Linked DNA regions of Homo sapiens: region 2 is linked to region 1. The links are contacts of gene promoters, found by promoter capture Hi-C in blood cells and fetal thymus (Javierre and others, 2016). All regions are on one chromosome and are shown on one strand. The core of a region is centred on a gene start or on the middle of the fragment in contact, and the rest is flanking DNA. Distances in the headings are between cores, read along the strand shown. Region 1 holds the start of ZNF704 (zinc finger protein 704). Region 2 overlaps TPD52-MRPS28 (TPD52-MRPS28 readthrough).

Region 1 (5,111 bases), core at 461-2,960:
GAGAGATTGACAAGAAACACCGCTTTCTGGTTTCAATAAGCTTGAATAGCCCTCAAAATAAGGAGAAGGGGACACTCCTTCCTTGGGGGAGAATAAAATCTCACTCTCCCCTGCCTCACCCGTCCCCACCGGGCACGAACCGGCGCCTCCGTGGTCCCATCACCCAAGTTCCCCACCTCACTGGGGAGAAGCGCCCTTTCCCGGCACCCACACCAAACAACAAACCCGACACGGCCTTTGAGGAAAGCGGGAGCCGCCGCCTGGGAGAGACGCAGGGGCCCAAGGCGCAGGCAAATCAACAGTTCCTCGCGCTGCCCCGCGCGGCCGCCCGCGCCGCCTGACACACCCCTCCTGGCCGGGTCTCTCCCCGGCGCCGCTGACCGTCCTCGGCCAGGCGCCTTGCCCCGGGGCCCGGGCCCGTCCCCCTCCCCGGGCTGGCGGGTCCCACGCGCGCCACCGCGCCCAACACGCACCTTCAACGCGCCCCGGGCCGGGCCCCTGGGGACTGCGTGGCCGGGTCCGAGGGGCACGAAACGCTCCTCGCCGTCCTCGTCGTCTTCGTCGCCGTCCACCACCTCGACGACCACCTCCTCGTCCTCCTCTTCCTCGTCGTCATCCTCCTCCTCCGCGCCCCCTCGGGGCTTCTCCTCCACACGCCCGAGCCCCCTCCGCCGCCTGCTCCCGCCCTCCTCGTCCTCGTCTTCCTCCCCTAGAAGCAGCAGCACCGGCGACGAGGCGGCGGCGGCGGCCCCGGTGGCCCGAGGGGGGCCGGTCCCGGCGCTGCGCGGCGGCGGCGGCAGCGGCGGCCTCCAGCTCTCCGGGGCGGGCGCCGGGGCCGGGCCCGGGACAGGGGGCGGGAGCCCGGGTAGGGCGGCTTCCTTGGCGGGCGCGGGCGCCGGCCCGGCAGGCTGCAGCGCGGCGCCCCCCCGGCGGCTGCCCAGGCTGGAGCGCTTGGCTAGACGCCGCGCCTGCATGCCTGAGCGCGGGGTTGCGGGCCGCGGCGCGGGGCCGGAGAGTTTGTCACCTCCTCTTCCTCCTCTGCCTCCGCCGGTGGCCGCAGGGCCGGGGACTCGCGGCCGCAAGGGGCTGCAGGAGCCGCCGGCCAGGACCCGCGGCTGCCACTGGCTGCAGAGGCGCGGGCGCCGCCTTCGCTGGACCGGCCGGCGGGGACGCCGGCGGCCGGCGGCTACGGCGGGGCGGCGCGGCGGCCGCGGGCGGGGGTGGGTGTGAGCGAGCGGCGCGCTGCCGCCTCCGCCGCCGCCGCCGCCGCCCGGGAGCCGCGGGCCGCGCTGCGCTCCATGCGGCCGGCGGCCGAGCCCGCGCGCGCCTCTCCCGGCCGGCTGCGCCCGCGCGCTCCGGGCCTACCGCTGCCGTGCCTCGGCGCGAGCTGTTTGTGTTGTATGTTTTCCACCACCGCCCCCCTCTTCGCGAGCCATTCCTCACAACCCTCCGGTCCCCCCGCTCAGACAAAACCCGGACTGGATTTTTTTTTTCTCTTACCCACAGTCTCCGAAAGTCTGGCGCTTCGAAGCAGTTGGCCCTGACACCAGGGCAAACGCTTAACCGCAGCCCATTCTTCCCTCCGGAGGGAGGGGAGTAGACTTCGCTGGAAGTAAGGTTGTCTGTCAAAGTTAGACTTTGAACGTAGAGATTTGCTACAAGTCATTTTAATGGACACTGATGTGCATGGCAGCTACTCCTGAGCTTGTGTGAAATCAAGGAAGGTGTACCAATCTGAGGTTTGGGATGAATTCCTAATATGAATCATCAGAGTCGCTTAGATTTTCGAAACACTGTTTCATGAGCGATTGTCTACCAATCTCACACTCTTTGAACGCACCACTCTAGGCCCTGCGATTGAGCTGCCTTGGCTCTGTGCTGAGTGTGTAGGTCTTTCAGCTTTTACTCCTGCTATTCTACCTTGAGTGCCTGATTTTAATGGCTGAATTCCAAGAAGCTTTCTGTTTGCACTGTCTGATCTGTAGACTCTCTTCTGGCATTGTTCAGGACTTTGAAGAAACAAATGGGTGGGAGTTCAAGATCGTTTGAGTTGGTTACTTAAGAAATTAATATGAAGTAAGACCAAATCTGGAAATCAAGCACATAACATGACTAATTTTGCCATTTTCTGACGATTTTTAGGTGTGATAAAGAAAATATATTTGCTATTGCGTGGGGTTAGGCTATGTAGTAAGTGGTATTTCTTCTTTTATTTATTTTAATTTTTATTTATATATATTTCTTTATTTTTCAGATGGAGTTTCGCTCTTGTTGCCAAGGCTGGAGTGCAATGTCATGGTCTGGGCTCACTGTAACCTCCGCCACCTGGGTTCAAGCGATTCTCCTGCCTCAGCCTCCTGAGTACCTGGGATTAAAGGCGCGCTCCACCATGCCATGCTAATTTTGTATTTTTCGTAGAGACAGGGTTTCACCATGTTGGCCAGGCTGGTCTCAAACTCCTGACCTCAGATGATTTGCCTGCCTTGGCCTCCCAAAGTGCTGGGATTACAGGTGTGAGCCACCGTGCCCGGCCTTAAGTCGTATTTCTTACATTCAAATCATACCCCCAATTCCATCCCTGTAGAGGAGGGCTGGGGAGGATCTTACGCATCAAATACCCTGGTAGGCACCTCCGTGGGGCCAGAATAAAAGGTGTATTCACCTTCAGTTAATTATTGTTGGACATTTAACATCATATGCTCTGTTAGACACTTGAATGGGGCTCATTAAATGCTCACTTATGGTGGCTTCCAACTGTTGAACAGGGATGATGACAAAGATTCTAAAATGAACTTTTTGTTCTCCCTGAATCAGATTAGCTTCCTGATGTACCTATTTCAGGTGATGAAACTCTCATTATAATCATTTGAGCCCAAAATAGCGGTATCATTTTAACTCCCTTCTCTACCTTATCCCTAGAGGCAATTGCCCACAAGTCCAACCCATTGTTCTTTCTAAAATGCATTTTGAATCCACCCCTTCCTTTCCATTCCCAAAGCTCTTACAGCATTTTGTGACTTCAAAAGTGGAAGTTTCTAACAGTTCTACACACCCATTTTCTCACCCACACACCCTCCCTTTCCCTCCTCAGATGCCACCACCAGATTTATGTTTCCGAAACCCCATTTAGATCACACCATTTTCTTGTTGGACTTTATATTTGTAAATATTCTGTTCAGGAATTCAGAGAGAAGAAAACAGAACATTAAGAGATGGGTGTGTCTGATCAAAGCATGGAATAGCAGGGGCTAGCCAATAAGTGAATAATCAGTATCAGCTAGAGTGTGCAAAGAATTAAGAAAGAACATTAAGGTGGTTTCATCCCAATTGGAAGAAATTTAGCTTCGTTGATTTGGGAGATGATTTTAGAGTGAGGCAGCAGGATCTTTCTCTGGCCATGAAAAGGAAAGATCGGGGCAAGGGGTGGGCAGACAGGTATGGAGGAGGTGGAGGAGGACAAAGGTGTGAGGCAAGCTGGCTAGTAGTTAGGCACATGGTCTCAGGAGCACCTAGGTCCGAATCCTGACTCTGGAACTTACCAGCTTTACTTTTACTCATCCTCTTTCTGTGCCTGTTTCCTCATCTGTGAAATGGGGATCATAGTAGTAAAGTTGTTTTGCAGAGTAATGAGTGAATAAATGCAATCAGCTTACAAGAGTGCCTGGGACAAGCTAGGGTTTATATGCGGGCTTATCATACTAAACATTGTAATGGTAGGTAAACAAGGTGGCTTGGGATACTCTCAGAGAATAACAAGGTAGCTCTCTTTTAAGTAAGCTCAGTAATGTCAGTAACTAGCAAAATGTGCTTTTAAAGACCAACAACTTGTCATCGGAGGACCATGGTCAGGCCAAGCATGTAGCTTTTTGTGCCTAAAATTGCTATAGATGAAAGAAAGTAAATGTTTTCCTGAGAACCTAGAGGAAATACAGAGTTAAATGAATTGGTGATTGGCATTTGTGACTTAGTGAAAGATGATACACTATTGTACATTCTTTTAAAATTGCTGTATATGCTTTGAAATCAGCTTATTGTTTCTCTTAGGCCACTTCAATAGACTTCATAGACATCCATTCCCTGGCCCCACATTGCTGGAAAGGCTGCCTCTGAATGGGAAAAAAAAAAAAAAAAAAAAAAAAAAAAGACCTGGCCTTGGCTTTCAAACCATTAAATGAAGGCTAATGTCAAAAAAGAGGTTTCACCCAAGCTGGGCTTTGAGGGATGAGAAGGATCTGTTCAGGCAGGGAGAGCAGCATTGTCTAGGCAAGTGCAGGCCACTGAAGACCACCCTCATTAAATCAGAGGACACTTAGTGGGAATAAAATCAAATTAACTCATCAGGAATCAAGAAAAGATCTCATGATGTGGGCACATGACACACTACATGCATGACATGGGCTCAGAAGTCAAAAAGTATCTTGTGATGCCAAGCAAGTGGGGAAGAGTCATTGCTGCTTCTTTCCCCCACATTCCCTAAGTGTAACACATTTTTTTCTTCCAAAACTGGGAGCGCTTGCCACTCAGAATGAGGAAATGTGCCTCTGAGCCATGGGATAAAGAAGGAGCCCCTCCAGAACAGTTGGATTGAACACATCCTCATCTAAAACATTTCATCGTTCATTCTGCATGGATTTGTTGAGTCCTGACAAGTGCCAGGTCTTGTTCTTGGTGCTGGCGTGCAGCAGCGAACAAAATAACCCTCCCTCGGGGAGGAAGCAGACAATAATCAAAGAAGATAAGTGAACAATATGATTTTGTGGAGGCATTAAGTGTCTACATGAAAAAGTAAGGGAAAAATAAAAGGAGGGGTAGAAGGTGCTGGAGGTTTAGTATAAAGAAATGTGCATTTCAAAGCGTATTTCTTTATATTAAAACAGACATAAGAATAGTGTGAAGTTTAGTGTGAACTTTGAATGAAAACTCGCAGCCCTGGACTCTGTCTTCTTCCTGCAGATAGAATCCATTCTCCCCTACTGTCCGCGTGCTTTGGTCAAAGTTTGAGAAGCACTGCTGCGGAAGAACGAGAGTAGGCTTTGGAGTGAGCATCACTCCCTAAACACATAGTAGCTGGCTGGCTCCTGTCTGGTTTCTTCAGATCTCCAGTGATTCTT
Region 2 (5,111 bases), core at 854-3,353, 800 kb before region 1:
TGCCCTGGGCATCTTCCTGTGTAGCATCTCAGGCCCACTCACCAGATGTCAGTAGCAGCCCCACACCCACACCCAGTTGTAACAACCAAAAGAGTATCTACAAACATGGTCAAATGCCCACAGTGGGGCAAAACTGTGGTTGAGAACCACTGACTTAAGGCGAGGGAGCATCTAAGAGGATGCTGTCTGCCACTGAGTGCCTTCAGAAGAGAGGGATGCAGCAGCTCAGGCCGTGACAACTTTAGATTCTTAAGGCTGGAATTTTCCCATGTGTGCCCATGGCAAGAACAGTAAAACCTTAGGGGGAAAACGAGTTGGGTAATTGTAGTCAAGGTAGCAGGGAAGAAAAAAACTGAGAAAACTTGATCCACTCCATTTAAGGGAAGACCCAAGCTCCTCACAAGCGTAAGGGGACAATGTCTGGGTTATTTTTTATTTTTTTTTATTTTTTGAGATGGAGTCTTGGTCTGTCACCAGGCTGGAGTGCAGTGGCGCGATCTTGGCTCACTACAATCTCTGCCTCCCAAGTTCAAGCAATTCTCCTGCCTCAGCCTCCCGAGTAGCTGGGACTACAGGCGCCCACCACCATACCTGGCTAATTTTTCGTATTTTAGTAGAGACAGGGTTCACCATGTTGGCCAGGATGGTCTCAATCTCCTGACCTCATGATCCGCCTGCCTCGGCCTCCCAAAGTGCTGGGATTACAGGCGTGAGCCACCACGCCTGGCCAATGTCTGGGTTATTAAAGAGTAAAGGAAACAGAGCAGGAGGGGAGGGGCTGCACTAAGACAAAAAGGGAAAGGAGCGCTTGGGAGCCACATCGGGTGCAAAGTGCTCCTGGGACTCAGCTCTGAAAGCAGGACCCTGAACAGTGGTCAATGTCCCCACCCAAGACAGAAGGTTACCTCCCAAAGCTTCACTTCACAGAAAGAGTGGACAAAGAAGAAACGATCCTCAAGGTAAAACACAGTATTTTCAAATGCTTTACTTGGTCCTTCCAGGTATTTCTAAATGGACCCTTAAATCTCTTTCATTTTTTTTTAAAAGAAAAAATCTTCAGTCAATTACTTCAGAGCCATCTCCTCTCCCCACTGCTCTGCTCCCCTGCCCCAAAATTGAGTATAAAACTAGTAACTGGGACATTCCAGAAAAGAGTGACAAAGGTCAGCCATGCAGAAATCTCAGAATCCCCAGAGAGGAAGTCTCTTCCATCCTTAAATTTCCTCTCTAGGAATAAGGAAATTCTACATCTCTTCAATTTGACTCCAGTTTTTATTTTGTAAACCACAGCCATGTTTGCTATTTAAGACTGATGCAATCATGAAAAACTTTTAAGAAGTGGTAACCACTTCTCTAAAAAGAAGTGAGAATGACACAGAGTGAAAATCAAAAAGGGTAAAACAGAATGAAAAGAACTATGAGCTAAGGAATTTCAGTTTGATTTTTCAGTCTTTCTAGAGTATCAAATATGATCGTGTTAAACTAAAATGTCAGATTTTTCCATTGCTCATAATTCCTTAAGTCAATAGAAATAACCAAAGGTGCCATAAGCCAAGTCTGCATCTTCCTGTACATTAGAAAATTCTCCCCAGCAATCCCATTACTGGGTATACACCCAAAGGAATATAAACCATTCTATCACAAAGACACATGCATGCGTAAGTTCATTGTAGCACTATTCACAATAGCAAAGGGTGGAATCAACCTAAATGCCCATCAATGATAGACTGAATAAAGAAAATGTGGTACATATATGCCATGGAACACTATGCAGCCATAAAAAAGAACAAGATCCTATCCTTTGCAAGAACATGGATGAGCTGGAGGCCATTATCCTTAGCAAACTAACACAGGAACAGAAAACCAAACAGGGCACCTTGTCACTTATAAGTGGGGGCAAAATGATGAGAACACATGGACACAAAGAGGGGAACAAATGACACTGGGGCCTACCAGAGGGTGGAGGGTGGGAGGAGGAAGAGGAGCAAAAAAAGGGAAAAAAAATCACTACTGTGTATCAGGTTTAGTATCTGGATGATGAAAGAATCTGTACATCAAACCCCTATGACACATGTTTACCCATATAAGAAGCCTGTACATGCACCCCTGAACCTCAAATAAAAGGGTTTTTTGTTTGTTTGTTTTGAGATGGAGTCTCATTCTGTCACCCAGGCTGGAGTGCAGTGGTGTGATCTCAGCTCACTGCAATCCCCTCCTGGGCTCAAGTAATCCTCCTACCTCAGCCTCCCAAGTAGCTGGGACCACAGACGTGTGCCACCATGCCCGATTAATTCTTTTACTTTTGGTAGAGATGGGGTTTCACCATGATGGCTGGTCACAAACTCATGAGCTCAAGTGATCTGCCCGCCTCAGACTCCCAAAGTGCTGGGATTACAGGCATGATCCACTGCGCCCAGCCAAAAGTTTTTTTTAAAAAAGAAAATTCTGGCCCGGCCCAGTGGCTCACGCCTGTAATCCCAGCACTTTGGGAGGCCGAGGCAGGCGGATCACGAGGTCAGGAGTTCAAGACCAGCCTCGCCAATATGGTGAAACCCCGTCTCTACTAAAAATACAAAAATTAGCACGATGTGGTGACGCGCACCTATAGTCCCAGGTATTTGGGAGGCTGAGGCAGAAGAATCGCTTAAACCCGGGAAGCAGAGGTTGCAGTGAGCCAAGGTTGCACCACTGCACTCCAGCCTGGGCGACAGAGCAAGACTCTGTCTCAAAAAAAAAAAAAAAAAATTCTTAAGAGGAAGATAGGTGCTATGTAAATAACATTTGGGATATTATCCTTAAGGGTGTTCACAGAATGGAAGAGATAATGCAACAAAAGACCCCAGCTGTGAGACCCTGGTCCTCATAATGTTCAGCCCAAAGATGGAATAGAATGTTGAGATCCAAGTGGCGTATAAAGTATCAACAAATTATTCCCACGGTAAAACACTTGACCAAAGGAGAACTTAAGCCTTGAATAGTTAATCTGTTCTATAATATCCATTACCAGAGAGGCTGAGATGTTGCGGTCTAAAAAAAACAAAAAACCAAACCACTAGCTTAAGAATTAAGAGATGAGTGCTAGTCCTATCTTAGCCTAACTAAACTTTGTGAGTTGAGAACATCACATATGTCTCTCAGCCTCAATCTTCACATCCGTAAAATGAACTGGAGTGTGAACGACTCCTTACCAGTGTCATTCATTCATTCATGCATTCCACAAAGTTTTTGAGCCATATAATGTCAAGCACTATTCTTGGTGCTTGGGGAAACAGAGGTGAACTAAAAAGACAAACAAAGCTTATGTTCCAGATTCTGAAACTATTATAAATTGGTGTTTTCACACTATGGGTTGTAAAATCCAGTTAGCAGAACCAGATGAGCACTTTAAAAGAAGAAATGGCATCAAATAGTATAAAATGTCAGAGTACATCACATATAGTAAGGAGAAGTTCTGGTTCATAAAATTTTGCTTCAGTTATTGATAGATTCTTATATTTGTGAGGATTGCAGGTAAGGAGGTATAAGGCATTTCTGAATATGGGTTGGTTGTGTCAAAGGAGTTTAAAACTCCCTAATAAAAGGCTTCATTTTGTTTCAGCCACTGTCCTCATCCTAACCTTCGCTTTAATTACTTCTTAGGAACATCCTGCCCATAGATAAAATCTCATTACTTTCCCGTTTGCCCCATGATGGCATTTTGGATAAATATCAGAGATATTTTTCACTCTTTTCAAATCAGTATTCCCAACCTCTCTGGGTAGGATTCCTTTTTATATCAGTCCTTCTTGTCTGTATTACTTGTCTGGTGATTAAGAAAATACATAGTGGCCAAAAGCCACAAGAACTTTTAATGGATTCATAATGTATTGGTCCTAAAAGCTTCTACGTAGAAATACAAAGAGTGCAAACACACGGAGGACACATTATTCATTCCATCGACCAACCATGTTTGATGTTCAGACAGGTGTGCAGACTTCTTATGCCCTGAGGGGTCATGGGCACAGAGATGAGTAATCACTCTTCCAGGCCCCCACTTTTATTTGGCCATTTTAAAATCACTGTGTTCTTACAGATGACTGCTGAGGGTGGTTTCTGCTTGTTTTAATGCTTGTTCACCCTCTTTTCTTTCAATTAATGCAAACTACTAAACCTAGCTACATGAGTTTGTTTTTCATTACTGTTATTCATTTGCTTTTTAATAATTTTTTAAATCTCACAACCCCAGGTTCCTTCGAACAGCTAACAGGAATTGTGAAGATAATCTTTCAGAATCTGCCTAGAGGTACACCCAACCCTACAACTGCCCTGGTTTTGACAGAAAACATCCCAAGGCAGCCATGACCATAACTTGGAAAATGAAAGGAGGTGAAACCAAGAGACAAGAAGGGTAGAAGGGAACTAAAAGAAGCAAGCAGTGTCAATCTTCCTGGGAATCTGGATGCTTGCACACCGATCAAGGTCCACCTGAAGTCACAAAACCACAGCCCCAGCTTCTCAAAGGTTCCCTCCCTCCCCCGCAAGTCACTTGAGTTTCAGTCCATTATCAAGCTCTAGCTTCCCCATTCTGTGTGGCCCCTATTAAATTATACATAAAATTTATAAGTTAGAAGGGGGCTGGGCAAAGGGGGAGCCCAGGCCCCTTTATTACAGAGGTCTGAGGGGGGCCACTTGGGCAAGGCAAGGTCAGCACTGGAGAAAGTTTCCTGGCAATCAGAATCCCCCAGCAGACATCAAGCTGCTGCCTCCTGCCCCCAACTTCTACAGACCAGCTCTACCCCTTCTCTGTTATATTCAACATTTTCCTGTTCCTGGAAATCCCAGCCACTTTTGGGGAAAGATGGCTACCAGGTGCAACCAAGAGAGGAATGCTGCTTCACACATCCCTACTGTCGGCAAATACACAAACCTAAAATACTTAAAACTAAGTTTCATGCTGTCACCTTTACCATGTTTTTTTCTAGGTTACCCATTTTTTCAGCTTAAAATGAACAAAATGTGACCTGTTCTTCATTAATAAGGAAAAAATTAACTTCTGGAAAAACCTGATTGCTTATTTGGCAAATTACAGAGAAGGTCATTTAACCAGTTCCCAGCATTGGCTATGAGATGAG

What was found. Contacts are between HindIII fragments. The CHiCAGO score rates a contact against its expected background, and 5 or more counts as called.
Region 2: a contact is called between a fragment that was not itself captured here and the fragment with the promoter of ZNF704 in region 1, in 1 of 17 cell types (fetal thymus). The highest score is 6.3, in fetal thymus.

What each region holds. Positions count from the first base shown.
Region 1 is chr8:80,873,071-80,878,181 of GRCh38, forward strand. It overlaps ZNF704 (zinc finger protein 704), which reads right to left and starts at 1,711. Exons shown (of 9, transcript NM_001033723.3): 1 at 1,501-1,711. RefSeq lists a silencer at 390-590. The HindIII fragment of the contact is 1,917 bases long and covers 39-1,955 here.
Region 2 is chr8:80,074,548-80,079,658 of GRCh38, forward strand. All of the region lies in intron 1 of TPD52-MRPS28 (TPD52-MRPS28 readthrough), which reads right to left. All of the region lies in intron 1 of TPD52 (tumor protein D52), which reads right to left. LOC105375919 (a long non-coding RNA gene) reads left to right here and starts at 4,975. Exons shown (of 4, transcript XR_929089.3): 1 at 4,975-5,111. The HindIII fragment of the contact is 2,383 bases long and covers 913-3,295 here.